Regions from separate parts of the Homo sapiens genome. Here regions 2, 3, 4, 5, 6 and 7 are each linked to region 1. The links are contacts of gene promoters, found by promoter capture Hi-C in blood cells and fetal thymus (Javierre and others, 2016). All regions are on one chromosome and are shown on one strand. Each heading gives the region's core, a stretch centred on a gene start or on the middle of the fragment in contact. The rest is flanking DNA. Distances are from core to core; before and after follow the strand shown.

Evidence for each region. The method cuts DNA at HindIII sites, captures the fragments that hold promoters and counts their contacts. A CHiCAGO score of 5 or more calls a contact.
Region 2: a fragment that was not itself captured here is called in contact with the fragment with the promoter of PMPCB in region 1 in 6 of 17 cell types (activated CD4 T cells, total B cells, naive B cells and 3 more); the score reaches 11.0 in activated CD4 T cells.
Region 3: a contact is called between a fragment that was not itself captured here and the fragment with the promoter of PMPCB in region 1, in 11 of 17 cell types (total B cells, naive CD4 T cells, total CD4 T cells and 8 more). The highest score is 10.4, in total B cells.
Region 4: a fragment that was not itself captured here is called in contact with the fragment with the promoter of PMPCB in region 1 in 6 of 17 cell types (total B cells, M1 macrophages, naive CD8 T cells and 3 more); the score reaches 9.2 in total B cells.
Region 5: a fragment that was not itself captured here is called in contact with the fragment with the promoter of PMPCB in region 1 in 4 of 17 cell types (total B cells, naive B cells, naive CD8 T cells and 1 more); the score reaches 11.0 in total B cells.
Region 6: a contact is called between a fragment that was not itself captured here and the fragment with the promoter of PMPCB in region 1, in 4 of 17 cell types (total B cells, activated CD4 T cells, M1 macrophages and 1 more). The highest score is 13.5, in total B cells.
Region 7: a contact is called between a fragment that was not itself captured here and the fragment with the promoter of PMPCB in region 1, in 5 of 17 cell types (naive CD8 T cells, total B cells, naive B cells and 2 more). The highest score is 7.7, in naive CD8 T cells.

The regions. Positions count from the first base shown.
Region 1 is chr7:103,295,505-103,299,002 of GRCh38, reverse strand. PMPCB (peptidase, mitochondrial processing subunit beta) reads right to left here and starts at 1,568. Exons shown (of 13, transcript NM_004279.3): 1 at 1,445-1,568; 2 at 295-435. The coding sequence starts at 1,543. RefSeq lists enhancers at 1,314-1,613, 1,714-1,773. The HindIII fragment of the contact is 11,349 bases long and covers 1-3,498 here.
Region 2 is chr7:105,119,586-105,123,083 of GRCh38, reverse strand. The region is part of intron 15 of SRPK2 (SRSF protein kinase 2); the gene reads left to right. Among named protein-coding and RNA genes, the nearest start is that of KMT2E, 110 kb to the right of the region's middle. The HindIII fragment of the contact is 3,192 bases long and covers 342-3,498 here.
Region 3 is chr7:105,098,144-105,101,641 of GRCh38, reverse strand. KMT2E (lysine methyltransferase 2E (inactive)) reads right to left here. Exons shown (of 27, transcript NM_182931.3): 16 at 53-217. Among named protein-coding and RNA genes, the nearest start is that of KMT2E, 86 kb to the right of the region's middle. The HindIII fragment of the contact is 1,649 bases long and covers 780-2,428 here.
Region 4 is chr7:105,080,290-105,083,787 of GRCh38, reverse strand. It overlaps KMT2E (lysine methyltransferase 2E (inactive)), which reads right to left. Exons shown (of 27, transcript NM_182931.3): 13 at 1,991-2,100. Among named protein-coding and RNA genes, the nearest start is that of KMT2E, 68 kb to the right of the region's middle. The HindIII fragment of the contact is 3,696 bases long and covers 1-3,450 here.
Region 5 is chr7:105,059,627-105,063,124 of GRCh38, reverse strand. KMT2E (lysine methyltransferase 2E (inactive)) reads right to left here. Exons shown (of 27, transcript NM_182931.3): 4 at 847-961. Among named protein-coding and RNA genes, the nearest start is that of KMT2E, 47 kb to the right of the region's middle. The HindIII fragment of the contact is 6,535 bases long and covers 1-3,498 here.
Region 6 is chr7:104,986,308-104,989,805 of GRCh38, reverse strand. It overlaps LINC01004 (long intergenic non-protein coding RNA 1004), which reads left to right. Exons shown (of 1, transcript NR_039981.2): 1 at 1-3,498. Among named protein-coding and RNA genes, the nearest start is that of LINC01004, 3.1 kb to the left of the region's middle. RefSeq lists enhancers at 1,799-2,298, 2,299-2,800. The HindIII fragment of the contact is 1,343 bases long and covers 1,318-2,660 here.
Region 7 is chr7:104,959,900-104,963,397 of GRCh38, reverse strand. It overlaps LOC101927902 (a long non-coding RNA gene), which reads right to left. Exons shown (of 2, transcript NR_187679.1): 2 at 1,064-1,414. Among named protein-coding and RNA genes, the nearest start is that of LINC01004, 30 kb to the left of the region's middle. RefSeq lists an enhancer at 1,975-2,044. The HindIII fragment of the contact is 1,381 bases long and covers 1,270-2,650 here.

The DNA.
Region 1 (3,498 bases), core at 319-2,818:
CACTTGGCAGAGTAGCCCTGCAAACATATTTCTTTCATTATTATCAATACTACTGAAAATAAATAATCAATAATAAGCTACAAGAACAAGATGCAGACAATGCAACAGGATACATATGCACCCTGTAACTAAGTACCACTGGAAGAAAAGGTTCACAACTCATGGAAATCTGTCAAGGCAAAATAACTGTCACCCTTTTTGAACCACCAGCCAACGAAAAAGCTAAAGATTAAAATCAACAATTTGCTACGCTAAATGAAGGGTCACTTAGAGAAGGTTGCCTGAGTCACTTACTGTGCATGTTGAGAGCCCAGAGTCTTCCGAAGCTACTCTGAGTCCACTTTCTAAACATGTTACTCTTGTTTCAGGAACATTCAGAACAACTTGGGTAGCAGCCTGTGTACTTCTTAATCTGTTCTCTCCAAAATATAATGACTGGTTGGGGGTAGGAAGTGGAAGAGACAAAGCAAAACACATTACTAATCTGATATTAAATGTTGCTTTTAAAACCAAATCTATTTTAAATAGGCTGTCTCTATAAAAGAATCTTTCTTCTTGAATTTTGGTTCCACTGAGATCTCTGCCTGGCCTAGAAACATCTGTCACCAGCCACTGTCCTAAAGCCAGCAACGTGTTTATAAACATGCCCTTCCCTCAGGGAAGATGAGCAATTATTATCATTACCCAGAGAGAAATTGACTTTATTTCACTACCTCTCCTAGAAATGTTTTATATTCATTATGGAGAAAACAAGCAGGAAAAAAAAAAAGAGAGGGAAACTATGTAAAACTACCTACACACAAGACAAAACTGACACTCGGGTTTTCATTGTTCAAGAAAAGCAACAGGGTTTGGAAATGGTTAAAAAAAAAAAGAGAGAGAGGATAGGAAGATGGGTCGATGTTCAAAATGCAAATGACTGGCTTTTCGGCCAGAAACTATTCGCCTTTCAGCAGTTTTTCTTTGCCCTTATACAAAAGTCTCACATCCCTTTGCTTAAAGTCAGAGGCTCTCTCATGAGAAAAATGCAAATACATAAAAAATTTTACTTCATTGATGTCCAGGTTCGCGGGAAGCCCAGCTGAGGACGAAGTTCAGTCTTAGGCAAAAATAGAACTCTGGAGCGGTACCCATTTCACTTTTTAGTTTTCCCCAATTTGCAAGCACTACGTTTTTAGTGGTCAAACATGCACTCCTCAGTAGCTGGCGGGAGGAGCCGAAAACCAGGGTCATCCCACACGTCACTAGCAGGTCTCCTGGCGGGTGGCCACAAGCCAGTCACCCCCGGCCAGTTCAGCAGCCCCAGGCCGCCTGGCGCCCGGCGGGTCCGGGTCGAGGAGGCCCTGCCCGACCCACTGTTCGGATCTGTGGCGCCGACTCTCAGGTGCGCTGCGCCGGGTCTGGCGAGATCTCGAGGACAGGACCGGCCTGGAGGGAAGCTCACCCGTCCCGCAGCGCCTCGGATTAGAAGACTCTCGCTGAAACCCCAGAGCCGCCGCCGCGCCGCGGATGACAACACCACTCGAGCCGCCGCAGCCGCCATTTCTGCTAGAAGGAAGGTAGAGGATGAAGGATGTGCTTCCGGGGTCGCGACCTGAGGTCCCAGAGCAGGGAGGTGGGCTCCACCTTGTGGCCGTGATGGGAATGACACTCCTCGAAGCGGTTGTGAAAGCAATCAGGGCCCGACCATGATGCTGAGCGGTCTTTACCAAATGAATTGGGGAGTCTGCAGAAGCCCCTTTATCATCAGTTATTTTATCGATCGCCTACTAAGTGCAAGGCACAAATGCGGTGGAATGAAAGGTAACCTGATGCAATATATCTCACTGGTGGATGGAATTGATTGAAAACAGTGGAATAATATTCATAAGTCACTGCCTTTAAAGGAAAAGTCTAGTGGGAGAGACAGATGCCGTGAGGGGAGGAAACGATGTATCCGTGTTGACCACTATCCACTCTTCGAACCTCTACAATATGGCTCATCTCATTCCATAGAAATTGCCCTTGGTAAGGTCACTAATTGCTAAAAGTTGGACACTTTACAGACTTATGTTACAGTCCTGTTGGAGGATTTGACATTGTTGGCTTCTTTGAAATTCTCTTTTCTCAATATATTCTAGAGCTCCACCTCCTCATAGTTCCCTCTGCACCTTCTTGGACTCCTCTTTATTCACAGATCTGTTTTTTGTTTTTGTTTTTGTTTTTGAGATGGAGTTTCACTCTTGTTGCCCAGGCTGGAGTGCAGTGGTGCAATCTCAGCTCACTGCAACCTCTGCCTCCTGGGTTCAAGCAATTCTCCTGCCTCAGCCTCCCAGGTAGCTGGGATTACAGGCATGTGCCACCACGCCTGGCTACTTTGTATTTTTAGTAGAGATGGGGTTTCACCATATTGGTCAGGCTGGTTTTGAACTCCTAACCTCAGGTAATCCACCCACCTCCACCTCCCAAAGTGCTAGGATTACAGGCGTGAGCCACTGCGCCCAGCCCACAGATCTCTCAAGGAACTAAAAATTGCAAATGCTTTTCTAACTCAGGTAGATGGTATAGTGCTTATTTTGCAATTAAGACACTGAAGTCAAATAACTTGCCCCAGGTTACCCTGCTAGTAATAGGTTAACGCCAAAGACTGTGCTGTGAAACACTACATTTTGCCCTAAAAGTTGGTGTTTGCCAGGACTCTAAGCCTCTTCTACTGAACATTCTCCCTCTGGGTTTTTCCCTCCACTTCAAGACCTGTCTGCCCAACCCAGGCCTTTCTCTTGAGCTCCAGCCCACTTAACCATCAACTACTAGGAAACTACACTTGAATACCCCATTGGAAACTCAATATCAACTTGTCCAAAAGGGAATTCACTGTGTCCCCTGAATCTCTTCCCATATTTGCAATGCCAAACAGCCAATCATACCTACATTTGCCCAAAACTCCAAACCACCCAGAAGCTCCTCTCTTTTTCCATCTTCCACATTCAATTGATACACCCCTTTCCTGCCTCTTCAATCTACTCCAGGCCCATTGTCAGTTTTTTCACATTACTACCTATAGGATCTTTTACAAATGAAACTGTTACGGCAGTCCCATTATGAAGAATCCATCAGGGAGCCCTTGGTCACAATAAAGTAAAGGGTCCTTAGCATGGCAGGTGGGGCCCTTCATGATCTGACTCCCATTTATCTTTCCAGACTCATCTCCCTCCACCTACCCGGCTGCTATGCTTCGCAGGTTCAGTCCACAAGACTCATGATGTAATGTAATAAAGGACGACCAAGGTTATTCTCTCATGTTTCTAAAACAAATGTGTGTTAACCAAAAATAAATACAAACATGCATACATATATACAAAAACATGTAGGTATAATCACAGGAAGCACCTAGGAAGTTTTAGCAAGAATTTGTATTCAATTCTAATATACTTCATGGTATTAATTTATTAGTCATTATTTACAGTCAATATCTTAGAACATAAAGCCTACAGAAATTAAGTGCACCAGAGTAGAGCC
Region 2 (3,498 bases), core at 688-3,187, 1.8 Mb before region 1:
CCTGTCCTGTCTTCAAGAAGTGGGTGGTCCCCAGAAGCTTTCCAGCCCTCAGATCATGGTAGGAAAAACGGTGCAGCCAGGAGCAGACCTCACTGGGCTGGTCACCAGGAATTTTTCTGACCATTCAGCAGGCATATTTTAGTAAAAATTGCTGCGTGGATAATGGGATTATCAAATGAGACAGTTTACTTAAAAAAAAAAAACTGGTCTCTAGATGACAGCATCGAGTGTGTTGGGATAAAAGAGAGTGATTGTGTGCATGTGTGCGCGCGCGTGTGTGTATGTGTGTGTGTCAGACTACAGACCTTAAATACAATTGAAAATTTCAAAAGCAAGAAGCTTCTGTGCAGCAGCATAAAATCCACGTTTCCCTGAGTCAGGGACAACATCAAGAGAAATGTGAGAACTGAGGGCTAAAACCCAGGAGCTGAGTTTTAAAAAGAGATACTGTATTCTGTATTTTTAATATTTAGTGTCTGAGCTGAACTTGTCACAGTGTTTTAAAATTATCTCCTGAATACCTAAAAAGCAACAGATTCTTTTGATGCTGTAAAGAGCAAAGAAAGCTCTTTCGTGGGCATTTGACAGCTACACAGGCTGGGCGTTGTCACTGCCACTCCTCTTGTTTATCCCTCCATCAGATGATGGGCGTTTGGTTTTCCCCCACTTTTTGGCTATTATGAATGATGCTACTATGATCATTAATGTACAAGTTTGTGTGGGCAGATGTTTCCGTTTCTCTTGAATACACATGTGAAAGTTTAAGTATAAATTTTTAAATTTTGATGAAGTCCAATTTATATACATTTTACAATTTGTGCTTTTGATGTCACATCTAATAAATCATTGCCTACTTCAAGGTCATGAAGATTTACTTTTCTAGGAATTGTTTAGTTTTAGCTCTGAGGCATATGACCTATTTTGAGTTGATTTTTGTATGGGATGTGAGGTAGGGTTTATACACATTTTAAACTCCAATATTTACCTACATTTGGTTGTCTACTTGTGTAAGAATTCATTCAGATCTCTTCATTGTCTCTTGCTTTGTATTGGTATTTCTTGGTAGGTTTACTTTCTACGTGTACACAATTGATGCTCATCAGTTTTATATCATGGTTTGCTTTGTAATTACCAGTGTTCATGTAAATATAGTCCAGGATTTGCCTTTAGAGTCCTCCCACATGTAGTGTGGAACCTCATGGGCTTCTTTATTTAATTCTGGAATATGACAATTTCATGGATAAAATAATGTATTTTCCTTCACAAACCACTTTAAGATTCAAGAGAAGTATAATAGAACTTCCCTGTTTCCTTAGAAGGACTCTGCAAGTCCAGGACTGGCCAGTACAGTTGCTGTCACAAAGCCTTTACTCTGCAGGAGGAACCCTTCCTCAGAGCCTGCTTCCTGTTGGTTTTCCTTGGCTCTTTCAAGCTGTTTCTCAGAGCAAATTCAGAAGCCTAAGGGGCTCTTGGGGACCACACAATTGGCTGCCAGGCTCATGTTTGCTTGTGTGTGTGTGAGTTGATACTGAGATTGACAGCTGATAGTCACAGGAAGGGTGAAGTGATATTCCACATTCTTTAAGGAGGACAGGCTAGAAATGGAACTTTAAGAAACTAAAATTGTCACAGTTGTCTAGTTATTTGCAAAACTTGTTTCAGTGAAACACATCTTCATATATTTTCTTTTCTCTCTTTTTTTTTTTACGTCTTCATATATTTTCTTTTTTCCTTTTTTTGAGACAGAGTCTCACTCTGTTGCCTAGGCTGGAGTGTAGTGATGCTATCTTGGCTCATTGCAACCTCTGCCTCCTGGGTTCAAACGATTTTTGTGCCTCAGCCTCCCAAGTAGCTGGGATTACAGGTGTGCACCACCACGCCTGGCCAATTTTGTATTTATTAGAGATCGGGTTTCACCATGTTGGCCAGGTTGGTCTCGAACTCCTGACCTCAGGTGATCTTCCTGCCTTGGCCTCCCAGAGTGCTGGAATTACAGTCATGAGCCACCGTGCCCGGCCGATGACATTTCTTTAACTTGTTAGGGTGCTACTTTTATAGTAAGAGCAAATGGTGAAAATGTGTTTTTAAAATATGCTTTCCCCTCTTATTCTTAATTATCATTCTAAGTGATGGAGGTGGCTACATTTCTTGGGCATCATCTGCAGGGCTGGAGCTGGCTCATGGACTCGAGACCCTCACTCATTCAGTGAGCCCACTCTTGTTGTGTCTCCTAGCAATAGATACAGAGTTGGGGGCTTGGGCTTTGTGTTTAAGTAACCTTATCAACTATTTCCAGGGCAAGGTTACTTCTTATACTGAGCTTAAGGGTTTGCACACATAATCATTATAGCATCTGGGTGAGTTGATTTTCCTTTGCATTATATTATAAACTTTTTCCACAAAAAAAGTCCACACATTTTTTTTTTTTTTAGAGGCGGTTCAGTGTTTTGTTATATTGCAGTGCTGCTCTGTGCTCAGGACCATAGGTGTTTAGGACTCTCCTGCATATACTGTTGTTTATAGACTGCTTCTTTGCACAGTCTTTACCTTGTTAAAAGTAGTTAGATATTTTACTGCTCCTTGCGAATATTTTTACCAGTTTATAGTATGCCTAGTTATGGATGAATAGTTTCTCATGGCCTTTCACTATTATATTGTTTTGCTCACTGTTACTATGCAGCTGTTAAGCATTTATAGTGGTAAAACTTCTCTTTTCATGGAAGATTGTACTTAAAAGATGCCTTGTTGATGGATCTTAGTTTAACACCTGGCGCCTCAGAAATAGGTTCCTTTACTATTCTCAGCACACAGTGCTTCTCTGTAGTTACCTATATTTGCAAACCTGGAGAGTATTTTTTCTGAGATAGAATAGATTCATGTCATAAAAGTTCGCTCCCTTTCCCAGAGAACTTGGTTTAGTCACATGTGAGCTTTCTTAGTTTGCTTTAACTGTTGCTGTGGTGAGATCAACAGTCTAAATCAATATAGTCATATTACAGAAAATGTGGAAATTGAAATAACCTACTAACAAAAGCTGATGTTTTGATTCAGTTGATTTCCATCTTAATGAGCATTTTAATAATCTTGTGATTATCTGTAGGACATAGTTTGACTGTTCTTTTACTGCCTAATGTTGTACCATGATCTTCTCCCATGTTGTTAAGTAATATTAAATACTATTAAGTGAATCTACCTTGGTTTTCTTTTAACCACCATTTTACTATTACTGGCTCTTCGTAATTTTGCGAGTACATATAATTTTGTGCCAGCATATATTAGGCATGAATTTGGGGTGGTGCAACCAGGGTTTATCTCCTTGGGCTGGATTCCTAGAGCCGGAATTTCAGGCTTAGAGGGATAAACCTGCAGTCTCTGTTCAGACTTTGTTTTTATGGAGACTGTGTTTCCTTCAACAGGAGATCCTTTCCCGCCTCTAATATTACAGGTTCATTTCTTCATCAACACAGACCTGATGTCTAGTCTGGATGCGATGCTTTA
Region 3 (3,498 bases), core at 355-2,854, 1.8 Mb before region 1:
ACATTTTATTTTAAAGTGTTTAAGAAAATAAAACGACCTGAATAAATAATACCTGAATAACTTCAGCATCACTGACAATCTGTGTATCTTTACATTCAGTTTTAACTTCAGTTTTGGCTGTGCTGATCCTTTCCAAAGCTTGTTCTCTTCTTTTCTCTCTCTTTTCAAGTCTGGCAAAAGCTTGCAAAATTGCTTCCATTTTTCTTTCTTCTCTTGTCTATGAAATTTAAATTTTAAGTGACATCATAAATATCAATGCTCAAAAGTAAAATTAAGTCCAAATGTTTGTGATAAATGTAAAAAATAATTGCTATGATACTATCAGCAAACTACTTCTATTATTGGTGGATATGGGGAGAAAAAACATTTCTGTTCATTGAAGACCTTTCAGAATTCCCATCATCTTGGTAAGCCCTGTTATTGCAAATATTTCATGAAGGAAACACTTGGATGACTGAGTGTTAATGATAAGGGTAAAACAAAACAAAAAAGCCTCAAAAATTACCTTGTTTTACCAAACCGAAAATCTTTTCTCTTAATAATACAGAAATCAGCCTTTTAAAAAAAGATCCAAAATCCCTAAGGTAATGATATGTTGAAAAGGTAAAATTCATATGCACTTGAGTGAGTATATTATTGGCATACTGCAGCAGGATGTTGTGAGGTAAAGTCTTGCATTTAAAAATTATGATTCTCATTTGGTAAGTATCTCTGTGACTCCAGGCAAGTTAACCTTTCTGAGACAGTAAGATGTGGGTAATAAAATCCTTTCCAAAGCTTGTTCTCTTCTCTCTTTTCAAGTCTGGCAAGAAGTTCATTTATGATGAACTTCTCTGAGTTGTTATTTGGTTCCAACAGAAAATACGAGGTTTTCAAACAGTAGTTGGAAAATGGTGGGCGTTCTGTATGTTAATTATTATTTCTACTTTAGTCCTCTTGCCCTCCATTGTAATTCTTATAAAGTATTCCTCTACCTTCTGCTCTTCCTGTCTTCACTGACAATTCAAGACAGGGACTGAGAAACAGCCAAGTGTTCCTTTGAGCATCAGTTCTCTATCCAAAGAGAACATTAAGAGTAAGACCCAGAGCCTTGACAGATGCTTCAGCTCTAAACCAGAACCAGGAACCACATCCATCAACTGTCCAGTTCTTAAAATGAAAAGAACCACAGGTCCTGAGGCTCAGATCCATTTGTCTTTCCTCCTTTATTACACATCGATGTGAGGAAGAAAGATCAGAAACTCAAGGTCTGGATGCCACAGTCTTCTCAATATTGGAGCTTTAGTTCCAGTAATTACCAGCAGAGATTCAAGCCTCAAGATACCTACACTTTGGAAACTACTGTTTACCTGTTCCTGTATTTTTGTTGTTGTTGTTACACTCAGCAAGGGAACAAAATACTATGTCAACAAAAGTACTCTAATAATACTTCTAAGTTTCTAATTTGTTACAGCAAATTTCCATATTGCAAACATGACTCTGAGGAAACTGAGGTCCAAAGAGGTAAGGTTCTTTGTTCATGGATTACGTATCTGTATCTCACTTCTCCTAGTCTGGGACGGGCAAACACTACAATAGCACATGCAAAAGATGGTTCTACTTGTTCACTGGCACTGAAAGTTTTACAGCTGAGTTCTTTCCTTACAAAATTCCTTATTTTTGGGCTTTTAAATTACCTTTACCCCTTTTTGTCTTGTGGTTCTCTGTAAAACTGTTTTTATCAGGGCTTCTCTAAAACCCTGAATGTAGAAGAGGAGAAATTTGGAGTAACTAAAAAGATCATTTTCCCAAACTGCGCTTTACCTGATGAACCTGGTTGGAGAGGAGGGATTAATTACTATGGTTATTTCTTTTCAAAAAATTTAAAATAAAAAATTTGGGGAAAGTACATTTTTCCAGAAGAAACAAACTTGTCTTGGCAAAAATCATTGTATGTGTAAAATAAAAAACTACCCACAGGTGGGCACCCAAGGAAGATATTTTTTGTAGTATGATTATCCTGGGTGTTGTAAGGTAAATATGAATTTATGCCAACAGAGTCTGACATAGTCCAATATTTTCTTGTTTGGGATACAAGAAATATTTTCTTGTTTTGGTCAGAGATAAAACTATATGATATAAACATTCAATTAAAAAATCAAACTCCCCTGTAAACACTACAGCTAATTTATAGTCAGAGCAAAATCCTGTATTTAGAGATGGTTCATAATCTTCTAGAGTTGATCAGGATCTTAAAAAATAATGTGGTCCAATACTGCTGAAGAAACCAAAGCCCATGTGTATTAAGTGACTCATTCAAAAGCAGAGCCATAATTACTATGCAGGTTATGCAGGTTTCCTGGTTTCTGTATTACTCTTCTTTCCAATTACTGCCGCTACATAAAGCAAAACTCTTCCTACATTACTACAGCTGGGTAAGAATAAAGCTTAAGCACTAAACATTTCCTAACAGCTTTAGACCTAGCTTTATCTTAAAATACACAAATATTTTGGAACATAAACGTGCCTGATTTTCTACATTTATTTTTAATTTCTTAAAGGTCATACATCATTCAGCTTTTCTAGTCACCATTACATACAGTACATTCTTTGACACAGCCATGTATATGGTACCTATTTAAAGACAAAATTTGCCTCCCATTTTATAGCTCTAACTGAAAAATAAGTTTTATTCTTTGAGGTAGTTAGAGCTGACTCTGGAGATAGAGAAATTAGGATTCCTAATTAACCCCTGCAGACTTTCCATAGCCCCTAACACCTGTGCTATATAATCTAAACTCGATAGATTTCCCATGAAATCTATACATTGTTTTTATGACATATGTCTTAGTTTATGGTTTTCCAAGAGTAAATACCAAGCATTGTAATTTCCTATAAGCAGTCTGCTTAATAATATCCCCATCACAAAGCAAGACTCCCATCTCCACAAAAAAATTTAGGCTGGGCGCAGTGGTTTATTATGCCTGTAATCCCAGCACTTTGGGAGGCCGAGGAGGGTGGATCATGAGGTCAAGAGATCAAGACCATCCTGGCCAACATGGTGAAACCCTGTCTTTACTAAAAAAACAAAAATTAGCCAGGTGTGGCACGCGCCTGTAGTCCCAGCTACTCAGGAGGTTGAGGCAGGAGAATCACTTAAACCAGGGAGGTGGAGGTTGCAGTAAGCTGAGATTGCGCCACTGCACTCCAGCCAGGTGACAAAGCAAGACTCTGTCTCAGGAAACAAACAAAAAAATTAGTGGAACATGGTAGCATGCACCTGTAGTTCTGGCTACTCCAGACACTGAGGCAGGAGGATTGCTTGAGTCCAGGAGTTGGAGGCTGCAGTAAGCTATTGGTCATACCACTGCACTCCAGTTTGGGCAACAGAGCGAGGCCCTGTCTTTATCTAAAAAAAAAAAAAAAAATAGGAAAAGGAAAGCCAGAGCCCACCTACAAAATCACCCTATTCTTCTTTGGTCTTGAAATAGAGAAATTAAATGATTCCTTGCTCAAAAA
Region 4 (3,498 bases), core at 353-2,852, 1.8 Mb before region 1:
CTGAGGAGAAAGAGTATCTGCCTGAAAAGTCTTTTAATGCAGACACAAATGTCCTATTCTGGGGGGGGAAAGTCATAAAAAGACATTTATTAGTAAGGAAGAGAAGGAAGCACCAGGATTTAAGGCAGGAAGGGACAGATTAACTCTACTGTTTTGTGCAAATGCATTTGGGTTTATGATCAGGACTGCCCTTATCTATAAAGCTGCTAAACCCAAGCCTTGAAGGGAAAACAAACGGAAGCTGCCAGTCTTTTGGTTGTATAACAAGAAAACCTGGAGGAGAACCCTTTTTCTGGATTGGTACCATTGATGCTTTGTCCCTCAAGTCAGACAACAGGTAGCTAGGAAGGGATTGCCTTTTAAATGTCTTTTGATACTGGGCAATGCCCCTGGCCACCCAGAACCCTATGAGTTCAACACTGAGGGCATCAAAGTGTCTCTAATTCAGCCTCTAAATCAAGGAGTGATAATGGCCTTTAAGGCTCATTACACACAGTACTCTATGGAAAAGAATGTCAACACTATGGAACAGAACCCTGAAAGAGAAGATCATGAAAGTCTGGAAGGATTATACCATCGAAGATGCCATCATTATAGAAAAAGCTGTGAAAGCCATCATGCCCAAAACAATAAATTCCTGCTGGAGTGAACTGTGTCCAGATGTTGTGCATGACTTCACAGGATTTACATCAGAGCCAATCAGAAAAATCATGAAAGAGATCATGGATATAACAAAAAAAGGTGGGGATGAAGGAAGAATACAGATATGGATCTCAGAGAAATTCAAGAGCTAATAGACACCACACCAGAGAAATTAACAGAAGATGCCTAATGGAGATGATTGCTTCCAAACCAGTGCCAGATGATGAGAAAGAAGATGTAGAAAAAGCAGTGCCAAAAAACAAATTTACATTAGACAATCTGGCAGAAGGGCTCCATTGTTTTCAAGACTGATTTTTTACTTTTTTATGATATGGACTCTTCTATGATATGGGCACTGAAGCTAAAGCAAATGACGGAAGACTGGCACCATATAGAAACATTTTTAGAGAAATGAGAAAGCAAAAAAGCCAGGCAGAAATTACTAATATGTTTTCATAAAGTTACACCATATGTGCTTCCCTCTCCTGCCTCCCCTTCTACTACCCCTTCTCCCTCTGTCACCCCTGAGACAGCAAGAGCAACCCCCACCCTTCCTCCTCAGCCTACTCAACATGAAGATGAGGATGAAGACCTTTACGATAATCCACTTCCACTTAATGAACAGTAAATATATTGTATCTTCCTTATGATTTTCTTAAAAACATTTTCTTTTCTCCAGCTTACTTTATTGTAAGAATACAGTATAAGACATACAGAATATGTGTTAATTGTCATTGGTAACACTTCCAGTCAACCGTAGGCTATTAGTAAAGTTTCTGGGGAGTCAAAATGTATACGCAGATTGTGGACTGTGCAGGCAGTTGGTGCTCCAACCCCGCATTGTGCAAGGGCCAACTGTACTGAGATTTATCATTAGTTTTTTACTAGTATTTCAGAAAAATAGTTCTTAGAGTTTCTTTGTAGGATCTCCAACAAACCCTTTTAATTTATACTGCAAAGAAAATTTTCTTTTGTTTTGAGGGGCAAAAGACAAATTATTCATTCATACTGATTAACCAAATAAACTGTATGACTAAAATTATATCCCCTAGAAGAAGAAAAAAATTCTCACATAAACAAGGTCAGTGTTGTATGGCTGAATTAGGGTTACTTGTTATAATTACTGTGAACATTTACATTACAATAATAATTAAGGAAAATGTAGAAATGAAAAGTAGCAATGCTGTAATAGAGGCTGATACTAAACTTCTGGTTTTCAAGTACTTTTAACTGATTCATGATAGATAAAAATAAAAAGCTATAAAAGTAATGACAATACCTAAATTATTACAGGGACATTATGGAACTATTTTCAAACAACAGATTACATTTATAGACTTGAACTCACCAATTTCCATAGTCAAAATCAAAGGCAATAGTAATTTCAGTTCCCTTTGGAATACTGTGTATAGAATAAATATAAAGATGTATGGTTCCATCTTGAATTTCATGCCTCACCTAAAAGTTAAAATAATTGTACATTACCATAAATTACTTTCTGCCTTCAGAAGCATCAGCTTACAATTTTGAAAATTATTCTTTTCAAATTATTTCACAAACACAACCTGGAAAATATGTCATTAATGACAAGGCTTATAACTATCTATTGGTGGTTATCAACTGGGAAGGTTTTTCAATCATATACTGCTATCCACTGCCACCCCAACCCCTAGAGCCCACAATGTGGCATCAAAATAATAATAATAATAATAATAATAATAAAAATACTATATTTCATCAATTCTTCTTATTTTTATTTTTTTGAGACGAGTCTCACACTTTCGCCCAGGCTGGAGTGCAGTGGTGCGATCTCGGCTCACTGCAAGCTCCGCCTCCCAGGTTCACGCCATTCTCCTGCCTCAGCCTCCCGAGTAGCTGGAACTACAGGCACCTGCCACCATGCCCGGCTTATTTTTTTTTGTATTTTTAGTAGAGACGAGTTTTCACAGTGTTAGCCAGGATGGTCTCAATCTCCTGACCTCATGATGTGCCGGCCTCGGCCTCCCCAAGTGCTGGGATTACAGGCGTGAGCCACCGCACCCAGCCTCATCAATTCTTTTTTTTCACCTTTTAGCATCTCTGAAATCAGGAGTCTTATAACTGGTGGCATCTTAGGGTTTTTTGTTGTTGCTGTTGTTGTTTTGAGACAGAGTCTCACTCTGCCATCCAGGCTGGAGTGCAATGATGCAATCTTGGCTCACTGCAACCCCAACCTCTCAGATTCAAGTGATTCTCCTGTCTCAGCCTCCCAAGTAGCTGGGACTACAGGTGCGTGCCACCACACCTGGCTAATTTTTAGTAGGGATGGGGTTTCACCATGTTGGTCAGGCTGGTCTTGAACTCCTGACCTCAGGTGATCCACCCACTTTGGCCTCCCAAAGTGCTGGGATTACAGGTGTGAGCCACTGTGCCTGGCCTTCTTAGGTTTGATGAGTGCAATAATGGTTGAGCAAACGCTACTTTTCTATGACAAGACACTATTCTATATACTTTATATGTATTAACTCCTTCAGTCTTCATATCACCTTTTTACAGATAAAACTGAGGTTAAAAAGCTAGTAAGTCACAGAGAAGAAATAAATTTAAGTCTGGTTCCAAAATCTGTACTCTTAGCTGGGTGCAGCAGCGCATGCCTATAATCCCAGCTACTCTGGCGGCTGAAGCAGAACAAACACTTGAGCCCAGGAGTTCCAGGCCAGCCTGGGCAACATGGCAAGATCCTGTCTTTTAAAAAAAGAAAAGAGAGGAAAAAAAAAAAACACCTACATTCTTGGCTGCAACATTATATAATTACAAAACTAAAAAGCTTCATTTTGACATGTAAAAAACAAAACCAACACGATTTTCTACTCCACA
Region 5 (3,498 bases), core at 298-2,797, 1.8 Mb before region 1:
CCAAATTTCATTCCCTCCCTACCAAATCATATCTTCACGTTCCTATGGTCACATACATAGCTCCACCTCCAAGATGAAAGAAGGTATTAAGATGTGAGAATAGAAGTGTTAAAAAAAAAAAAAAGAAAAAGAAAAACACACATCTCAGAAATATGGAGCCTAAAGAATAATAAAACAAGACATATTTATCACTATAAAACATATAATATAGTTTTTTAAATTTAGTAATTTTTATTCTGGTCCAAGTAGTAAGTATCTCATAATTCTACCTCCATAGTATCATAAATGTGTTGTTATGTAATTACGTTTGAATCTAAATGCTGCCTCTTACTAGATATGCAATATTTAATAAGTTAGATAGGCTTTTATTTTCTCACCTATGAAATAAAAGATGAAAACTACATCTCATGAAGTTGTTTTTAATGATTAAATAATATATGTCTGACACATAACAAGGGCTCAATAAATGGTAACTATAAAATTTACTATATAAATTACTATATAATTCAAAAACTAAAAATCAAAAAATTAAAACAAAATTAATTACTATATAATTCAAAATTAATAGTAGGTAGTACAATACAACCTTATCTGCATTCTTTTAGGAAGTAAAGAAATATAATATCAAACTATTAACAGCATAAATTGCAAAATAATAAGAGAAACAGTTCACTTTTATAGAACTTTAATCGCTTAATGGTTAATGAAAAATTAAACGCCTAATTATTTTGATAGTATGAAACAACCATGCTTTTCAAACATGCCGTTTCAAGCACAGTATCACATGCATCTACTTTCAATCTCTAAATTTAAAAATGTTTTTTCAAAGAAGTGTTTAACACTTACCGCATAGGGCAAACCAATGTAACTGTGTGAATGATGTGAGCTGCTGGTATATAACTGGTGGGGATAACTGTTGGATTTCTCAACTACCACAGGGCTAGCTTCTACGGATTCTGGTCTGGGGGGAAAAAGTTGCATCAAAGAGAATTCCATTCTTTTTTTTTCCTCTTAATCAATTTAATTAAAATGATAAAGTACTTACAGCAAAATAATGGCTATACAAATACAGTATCTACTTACAGCAGGTGGATACACTATAGATAAGATATATCCCATCTAGATTATGTGTCATAAGCAAACTTCTGTTTAAGTAAAATAAATGTCCCAATCCAATTTCAAATATAGTTTCCCTCTCTCTCATTAAAAAAAATTACTAGAGTCCAATTATTATTTAATAAACCCTACGGCACTGAGAAAACTAGCAAAGGGGTGCAAAGAAGTAGTAGAAATAATTTAAGCAAGACTAAAACACACAGAATCTATATGGACCTCAAATGGAACTGAAGTATGCATTTCAGTGTTCAAAAATATATGCATGTGTTGAGTGTGACCAGATATTAATATAATAAAGCCTTGGAAATGTCAGTAAACTTAAGTAATAGGAAGTTTCAAAATAAACCAGGATTTATACCTGAAAAAAAACATAAACAGCTATCTGTAAGATGAGCAATTCTGGTCTTAGATGATGGAGACTGATCAACTACTGATACAATTTGCCCACTGTTGTTGACTTACAAGCTCCCTGGCCTAGCATTTTACATACATCACTTTCCCAACTTCTTTACTCTTACCAATCCTCCTGAGCTCTACTTGGTTAATTCCTATTGATCAACAAGGTTGTGAACCTACATCTGAGGTCAGTTCACACTAAAATTAATCTCTCCCTTGCAAATACTCAATAACATGATTTGTTTCTGTGCCTTTATTTTACAAAACTATAACATCACTTGAAAAATTTTTCATGACAATCTTTATCCTACCTCCTATTAAAACTTTACATTAGAACTTAGTACTATTTGCACTATTATTTAGTTTAAGGATATTTAGTGGTTATATTCTGATTAGTCATGAGACTAGCAGCATAAAAAACATTTTTTACAGTCAACTGCTTCTTAATATACTGTCATCCCTTCACGAAGTCTCAATTTAGCTCTCAGTGGCTGCTGTTGTAAGCGCTGTGTGCCAGAATCAGCAAAAAGAGGAGATACAAACTGAGGTTATCTAATGGTTCTAAAGGAGATTGTGAAGAGTCTCCATTATGTTCTGAATATAGTCATGCTTTGCTTAACATTGGAGATACATTCTGAGAAATACATCATTAGGTGATTTCACCGTTGTGTGAACATGATAGAGTGTACTTTACACAAACCTAGATGGTATAGCCTACTATACACCTAGGCTAAATGGCATAACTATTGCTCCTAGGCTACAAATCTATACAGCATGTTATGCGCTGAATATCGTAGGTAACACAATGCACTGAATATTGTAGGTAACACAATGCTAAGTATTCTGTATCTAAACACATCTAAACATAGAAAATAAGGGCTGGGTGTGGTGGCTCATGCCTATGATCTCAACACTTTGGGAGTCTGAGACAGGAGGGTCACTTGAAGCCTGGAGTTCAGGAGTAGCTTGGGTAAGATAGCAAGACTTTCTCTACAGACATTAAAAATAAAAAAAAAAAACTAGCCAAGCGTGTTGGCACACGTCTGTAGTCCTAGCTACTTGGGAGGTTGAGGTGGGAGAGCTGTTTGGGCCTAGAAGTTTGAGGTTACAGTGAGCTATGATCATGTCACTGCACTCTAGCCTGGGCAACAGAATGAGACTCTGTCTCTAAAAAGAGAAAAAAACATGTACAGTAAAAAAACAATAAAAAAGATAAAAAATGGTACACGTGTAGACGGCACCTCCAATATAATCTTATGGGACCACCATTGTATTATGTGGTCTGGTGTTGACTGAAACGTTGTTATGTGTGCATGACTGTACTTTGAAAACCAATATTCACCTGTAATCCCAGCACTTTGGGAGGCAGAGGCGGGTGGATCACAAGGTCAGGAGTTCAAGACCAGCCTGGCCAAGATGGTGAAAACCCATCTCTACTAAAAATACAATAAGTAGGCAGGGGTGATGGCAGGCACCTGTAATCCCAGCTACTTGGGGGCTGAGGCAGGAGAATCACTTGAACCCAGGTGGCAGAGGTTGCAGTGAGCCGAGACTGCGCTACTGCACTCCAGCCTGGGCGACAGAGTTAAGACTCTGTCTCCAAAAAAAAAAAAAAAAAAAAAAAAAAAAAAAAACAACAACAAGAAAATCAATATTCAGCTAATGTCTATGCTGTTACATTAAGAATTATTCATTATTTTAAAAGAAATGTTTCTTAATTTCAAAATTAATACATGCTGATTGTAGAAAATCTAAATATAGCAGTAATAAGAAAATGTAAGACTATGTCTCCACCCAACTCCCAAACATTCTCATGTTAATATTGCCATGTATCTTTCTCTAAACTTTTCTATGCATCATTATATCTACACAATTTTTGCTTTTTAAAATCCGAAAATATATGTATTCATGATTTACTTTTTCCATCTTTAAATGTCAACATATATACTTTATTCTTGGTAATAATTGCTTATTTCATTATATGAA
Region 6 (3,498 bases), core at 740-3,239, 1.7 Mb before region 1:
TCTTCCTCATCAAAGAGGCAGTAAGGGATAATTTAGAGTGACTACAGTTACAAATAATGTGCTGTATAAGCACCCAAGAGCAGAGATAAGGATGGAATTAAGGGTGTTAAAGAAAATATGGCCTCTCTTCTTTACCATTTGATTGTTTTTGCTGTCCCTGGAGACTCATATCTCTCTCTATTCCTAGGACCAAAGTTTACACAACTGCCAAATATATAAACAAGAACACCCCTTAAAATTCCTGTGAAACATTGTACATCTTAAGAGAGCAGATGTGTCTATGGGCTGTCACAAATATCAGTCTTGCTATGTTAAGCATAAACTTAACAAATATTAGTGGAGACACACTATTTAGGATTCGCCTAAAACCCTCTAAGATAGAGGTCCCCAATCCCGGCCCCTGATCGGCCGCACCTGCAGGAGGTGAGTGATGGGCCAGTGAACATCATAGCTGAGCTCAGCCTCCTGTCAGATCAGTGGCCGCATTAGATTCTCATAGGTGTGAGAACCCAATTGTGAAGTGCACGTGTGAGGGATCTAGGTTGTGCTCTCCTTATGAGAATCTAACTAATGCCTGATAATCTGAGGTGGAAGAGTTTCATGCCAAAACCATCCCCTTGCCCTGTCCATTGAAAAATTGTCCTCCACAAAACGGGTCCCTGGTGCCAAAAAGGTTGGGAACCACTGCTCTAAGGTGTCCAGTGTTGGCTGACCCCTCTCCCTACTTATGCACCCATTGGCTTGCCTAACAGCTGATTGATTTCTGTTTAAATAGACACAGTATATTGGGGCAGTTTATTGCATCTTTGGTCATCTCTTTTCCTCTGGGTCCCTAGGACGGAAGACAATATCCTAAGTTGATTCTGTCTAACAAAACATGAGTAAAATGAGGAATTGGTTAGGTAGGTGGCAAACAGCAAAGATTATATGGACTTGTAGCTTGCTCCATAAGTAGACTTTAACCAAGTAAGCTATTTGAAAAACAATCTTAATTTTTTTCAAGTGTTATTTTTAATTCTATAGGAATATTTTCATAAAAATAATGATGTCCATTATGTTAGCAACTAGAATTACAATGGCAAGTTTTAGGAGATGCTTGAAATGTGAGATGTTACATTTAAAACTATAAAGTTATCGACCTAAGTATATGATTGTACCCATGTGGCAGTAAACTTAAAACTTCCAGTTTCAGGTTTTGTTGTTTGTTTGTTTGTTTGTTTTAAAGAGTTGTTAATGGGGGAAAGGAAAGGAATATGTGAGGGAGATTGGCTTGCAAAGCCTAAAATATTTCTTATGTGGCCCTATATAGAAAAAGCTTGTGTATTCTGGACAAGAGCAATTAAAGGAAATAGTTTGGACTTAAAACTTCTAAAAATAAATAGTGCTCAAATTGCACTTGGAAGTCAGAGACCTTGCTGGTCATCAAAGGGTTCAGTTCAGTCAGTAGTTAGAAAAGACAGAAGCCAGCTTAGCCAAGAGTCAGAATACAAATATTCAGAACCGATTAATAGGCAAATAATTATATATACCATGTCCCAGCCAGTAGATGGAATAATATGCCACCATTAAATTTATATTAACATGTAAAAATGTTTGGAGTTTAGGGCTCTTTACCCATATCTTAGTGACATAGGAAGAAAATTAAGATAAATCACAAGCAACTAGAAAATAGACATGTTAACTTTATTTTAGTACATACTCTGGTAGGATTTTTACATAATCTTACGTACTAGTCAGCCTTCTTAGAAGTGTCACATAGTCAATATCCTTAAAGAGAAATGGAAGCTAATCAGGTAAGTAAATTGTGAGCTGAGGCCTACATCATGCTTGCTATTCAAAGAGAATAAAGTAATTGGATAAATGATAATGCCTCCTTGTTGGGAAAACAGTCTTCAAAAATGGCACTAAGTTACAGTTCTAATGCAATAGAGTCACTAATTACTATGAATACTTGTTTTACTTGGCAGATTACTAACAAAGTTAATTGGATACAATAAATGTAAAGATTTTCTTTTAAAACGACAGATTCTTCAGTGAGGTGTAAACATTTTATAGAACAATTATCAAAGCTATATTGGACTTAAATATTGGTCATGAATGTATGCACACCCCATAGGTAGCTGCCCTCCTTGGGCAGCTTTTGACTCCTATGCCAAATTTTAAAATAAAGGCCGTGGCCAGGCGTGGTGGCTCATGCCTGTAATCCCAACACTTCAGGAGTCCAAAGCGGGCGGATCGCGAGGTCAGGAGATCGAGACCGTCCTGGCTAACACGGTGAAACCCTGTCTCTACTAAAAATACAAAAAAAAAAAATTAGCCGGGCGTGGTTGCAGGCGCCTGTAGTTCCAGCTCCTTTGGGAGGCTGAGGCAGGAGAAGGATCTGAACCCGGGAGGCAGACCTTGCAGTGAGCCAAGATCGCGCCACTGCACTCCAGCCTGGGCAAGAGCGAGACTCCATCTCAAAAAAATAAAATAAAGGCCATATGTTTAATCACATTCCCCAAAAGGAGAACTTCATAAGGCACTAATGAGTAATGTTTATTTTACGAATGATTTTACGGGAAAAATTACAGAGGATGTTTAAATTGCAAAAATACTCCTCCCCTTTTTTCTCCTCCACCGCCCCCCAAAAAAAATCCTTTGCAGTTATCACCTAAGCTTTTTGGGTGTGTGATTTAAAAAAAAAAAAAAAAAACCACAAGACCTACCTTAACAATTTAAGTATGCAGTATTGTTTCTTCTCAGCTGCCCAGTCTTTGTAATTCTTATTTCTTATGCAGAACAATTTAGCATTTGACCCTACTATCACCAAAAAAAAAAAAAAAAGAAAAAAATATATAGCAGTTGAGGGCAGTATACAAGCTTAGTAAGTATATTCTGGTACTTGCTTAGGAAGTAGGAAATGTGATCAGATTCTGTTCTCTACCATATGACACTGATTTGCAAGGCCCCGGGTACAGGACTACTGGTAAAAAGAACCCTGTAACTTCCTGTCACAGAGGGACACAGCAATATATATAAAACAGCATCTGCCGTAAATCTTTGGGGAACGTCTTACTAGATTTAACCAGCTAATTTTACTAGGTATTTAGGAAAGTGTGACTGCAGTTCAGGGTCTTTGTTTTTTCTTTTAAGACAGGGTCTGGCTTTGTTGCTCAGGCTGGAGTGCAGTGGCATGATCAAGGCTCATTGCAGCCTCAGCATCCCTGGGCTGCAGCGATTCTTCCACCTCGGCCACCCAAAACTGGGATTATGGGTGTGAGCCACCACACCTGGCCTCTTATATCTTGATTAAGGTCCTGTCTGGGCCTACAAAGGTTCAATTTGCTTAACCCCAGCACTTTCCCTCAACATGGAGGTCCTTAGTCAACATTAACCAAGGTAATAAAGAGTTGAAAGTTTTAATCATAAGTAGGTGGAGGAGCATTTAAACTGGTTTAATAAACTTGAAATATGAATACCTTAAATATTCGAATAACAAAGCACTGGTGAAACAGG
Region 7 (3,498 bases), core at 711-3,210, 1.7 Mb before region 1:
TGTCCTCTAAGATAGATTTGGCAAAGACAAAAGACTCAAGAGGAAAATGAGACATTATTTTGCACCATCCAGGGGCAAGATTTTGCAAGTACTCAAGCTTCTCTCTTCCAGATATTAAAGGCATAGCAAAGGGGTTATATTATTACTACTGAATGCTAGAATACTATTTTTAAAACATTGATTTTGATTTTTTTCTTCTAGATTTTTTTTCTTCTATTCCATCTCCCCATTTGAACAGACAAACCATTCTTTGCTCCTATCTAAGAGATGGGTCTTACAAGCAGAAAGCAAAGTTTTTCAGTTTCAAAAGCCTGGGCCGGTGGTTCTCAAAGTATGGTCTCCAGACCACATCAGCATCACCTGGATACTCGTTAGAAAGGGAAATTCTTGGGCCCTACCCCAGACCTACTGAATCAGCACCTCTGGGGGTTGGGCTCCACGTTCTGTGTTTTAACAGGCCCTCCAGGTGACTCAGATGTAGGCTGCAGATTGAAAACCACTGGTCTAGATCCTTAGTGAACTGGAGAGAACAAACTGGTAAAAGATTTAGGAGAAAACATCAGGAATAACAGCAAAGCTCCTTACCTAAGTTAGAAAAATATTCTCTAGGCTGAGGGAGGAGGGGAGATAGAAGGGAAGTGATAAGACAGAGAGGTGGTGGGGACAGGAGGAGAGGGCTAGAAGTGAGTGCCAGCCTACATTTTAGTAAGCCCCTTTGCCTATGCCAGACCATTGGGTTAGTTGCCTTCTGGTAGGTGTCTAGTGAGGACTTATGCCTGACAGCAAGCAACAACCAGGACATTGTTTATTGGCTAACAGTCAGAGCAAAATGTTGGGTTTGTGTCCTCCCTATTCCATATGGACAGTCCTTCCTTACAACATCCTGGAATGCTCATTAACTCTTGAGAAGGAAGGTGAGGCCCTGGACCCCTAGTGACCTGATGGTTAGGGAAGGGAGAATAAGCCCTGCACTTGATTTTGGTGGGGATGAACAGAACCAACACAAGATTACCCCTGAGCCAGGGCAAGATAACACTCACCCCAATTATAATGACTACTTGTGTTGGAAATTGGCACTCAGCATTTATTCCAGTCTCCTCCTGGGTTGCCTTTCTGTAACAGTTGAAAGCTTAGAGAGGCTAGAAAGTTTAACTCTGCATTTCCCAGACTCCCTTCAAGTTGTGGATGTGCAGCTCACCATTGCGTTGCAGAAGGCAGAAGGAAGGCAGAGGCTCTTGGCCATCTTTTCTTGGCTTGCTTGGTCAAGCTTCATGTTGGTGGCAGCAGTGGTGGCTCTTCATTCCAACTTCCACATTTCTGGAGCGCAGCAACTTCGGCGTGTTCATGAGCTCAACAGCTCCAGTGACAGCCTCCTGACCCCTCAGCCTGCTAATCTGGGCTGAGGTTGTAGCTTCTGGAGGGAGGGAAATGAGGGTCAGTTCTGTGGCATTCAGGTAGACATTCCAGAAGGCCCCAGCCTACATGCTTATTCCTTCAGTACTTTCAACTATTTCATGAGCACCAACTTCCCTGTATTAATTCCTTCTTTGCTAAAAAACCCAGTCTGGAGCCGGGCGCGGTGGCTGACGCCTGTAATCCCTGCAATTTGGTAGGCTGAGGTGGGTGGATCACCTGAAGTTAGGAGTTCGAGACTAGACTGGCCAATATGGCAAAACCCCGTCTCTACTAAATATACAAAAAAAAATTAGCTGGGTGTGGTAGCGGGCGCCTGTAATCCCAGCTACTCAGGAGGCTGAGGCAGAAGAATGGCTTGAACCCAGGAGGCAGAAGTTACAGTGAGCCAAGATCGCGCCATTCCACTACAGCCTGGGTGACAGAGCAAGACTCCGTCTCAAAAAAAATAAATGAATAAAATAAAATGGTTCCTATTTCTTCCACTAAGGATATACTATTCAAAAAAAAAATCTGTCTTGAAATTTAACTGGAGTGACAGGATGGTTGCACAGAAATGCTTATGATTTCAGAAAATTGGGCCATATGCCAAGGAGCAATAGCAGTACATGCAGTCCATGTGTCAGAGGCTCAGAGGTGAGAGCGCTCACCACCCTGGCCTGGGTTAGGTTTTGGGGCAAGGCAGAACTTGAAGGAAATGTCTTCAAAGAGCAAGCAATGTGCTTTCTGGCTAGTTTTCCTGTTTCAGTTGACTTTGGCCTTGCCTTGCTCCCTGCTTCCTCTTTTCTGCCTCCATACCATCTCTTGTGCAACTCTGCTTACAGGGAACTCCCATCCCTGTCTCTTAAGAACCAAGCAAACCCCTTTTTCTTTTCCTCTTTTATCAGCCTGTCTCTTATTTCAGAATACACATTTCTGTATGCTTCAAAGTAGTTTACAGTTTTCAGTAAGCATGACCATGTTGGCGTTACTTATTTCAGAATGTGAGCCCCTGTTGACTGCCAAGCATTATCCCATGACCATGAGGACTCTCAACAATTGCTACATTATTTGTTAGGGGAGCTTCAAGGTCCAGCTTCCACTGTCTGAAGGAGCTTCAAGAAGCTGAATATGGCAATGTCTGCTGTCCCTACCCAAAAAGTATTTGATTAGCTCTGTCCACAAAGAGCAGAAATTTGAGATGACCCCTTCTGGGCCTGGAGAGCCAGCCTGAGACTAAACCTCCCTAGAAGAAGCTTTCTTTTTTTTTGAGACAGAGTCTTGTTCTGTCACCCAGGCTGGAGTGCAGTGGCATGATCTAGGCTCACTGCAAGCTCTGCTTCCCAGGTTCACACCATTCTCCTGCCTCAGCCTCCCAAGTAGCTGGGACTGCCGGCGCCCGCCACCATGCCCTGCTAATTTTTGTATTTTTAGTAGAGATGGGGTTTTGGCATGTTGGCCAGGTTGGTCTTGAACTCCTGACCTCAGGTGATCCGCCTGCCTCGGCCTCCGAAAGTGTTGGGATTACAGGCGTGAGCCACCGCGCCTGGCCGGAAGAAGCATTTTTAAATTTTCATTATTTTATTTATTTATTTTTGGTTTTTTTGAGATGGAGTCTCGCTCTGTCGCCCAGGCTGGAGTACAGTGGCACCATCTTGGCTCACTGCAAGCTCTGCCTCCCGGGTTCACGCCATTCTCCTGCCTCGGCCTCCCGAGTAGCTGGGACTACCGGCACCTGCCACCACACTCAGCTAATTTTTTTGTATTTTTAGTAGAGACGGGGTTTCACCATCTTAGCCAGGATGGTCTCAATCTCCTGACCTCATGATCCGCCTGCCTCGGCCTCCCAAAGTGCTGGAATTACAGGCGTGAGCCACCGTGCCCAGCCTGGAAGACGCATTTTTTACATCAAATCTCAGACAGGGCAGGAGGGAATTGCTCTGGATTATTATTATTATTATTATTATACTTTAAGTTCTGGGATACATGTGCAGAACGTGCAGGTTTGTTACATAGGTATACATGTGCCATGGTGGTTTGCTGCACCCATCAACCCGTCATCTAGGTTTTAAGCCCCGCATGCATTAGGTATTTCTCCTAATGCTA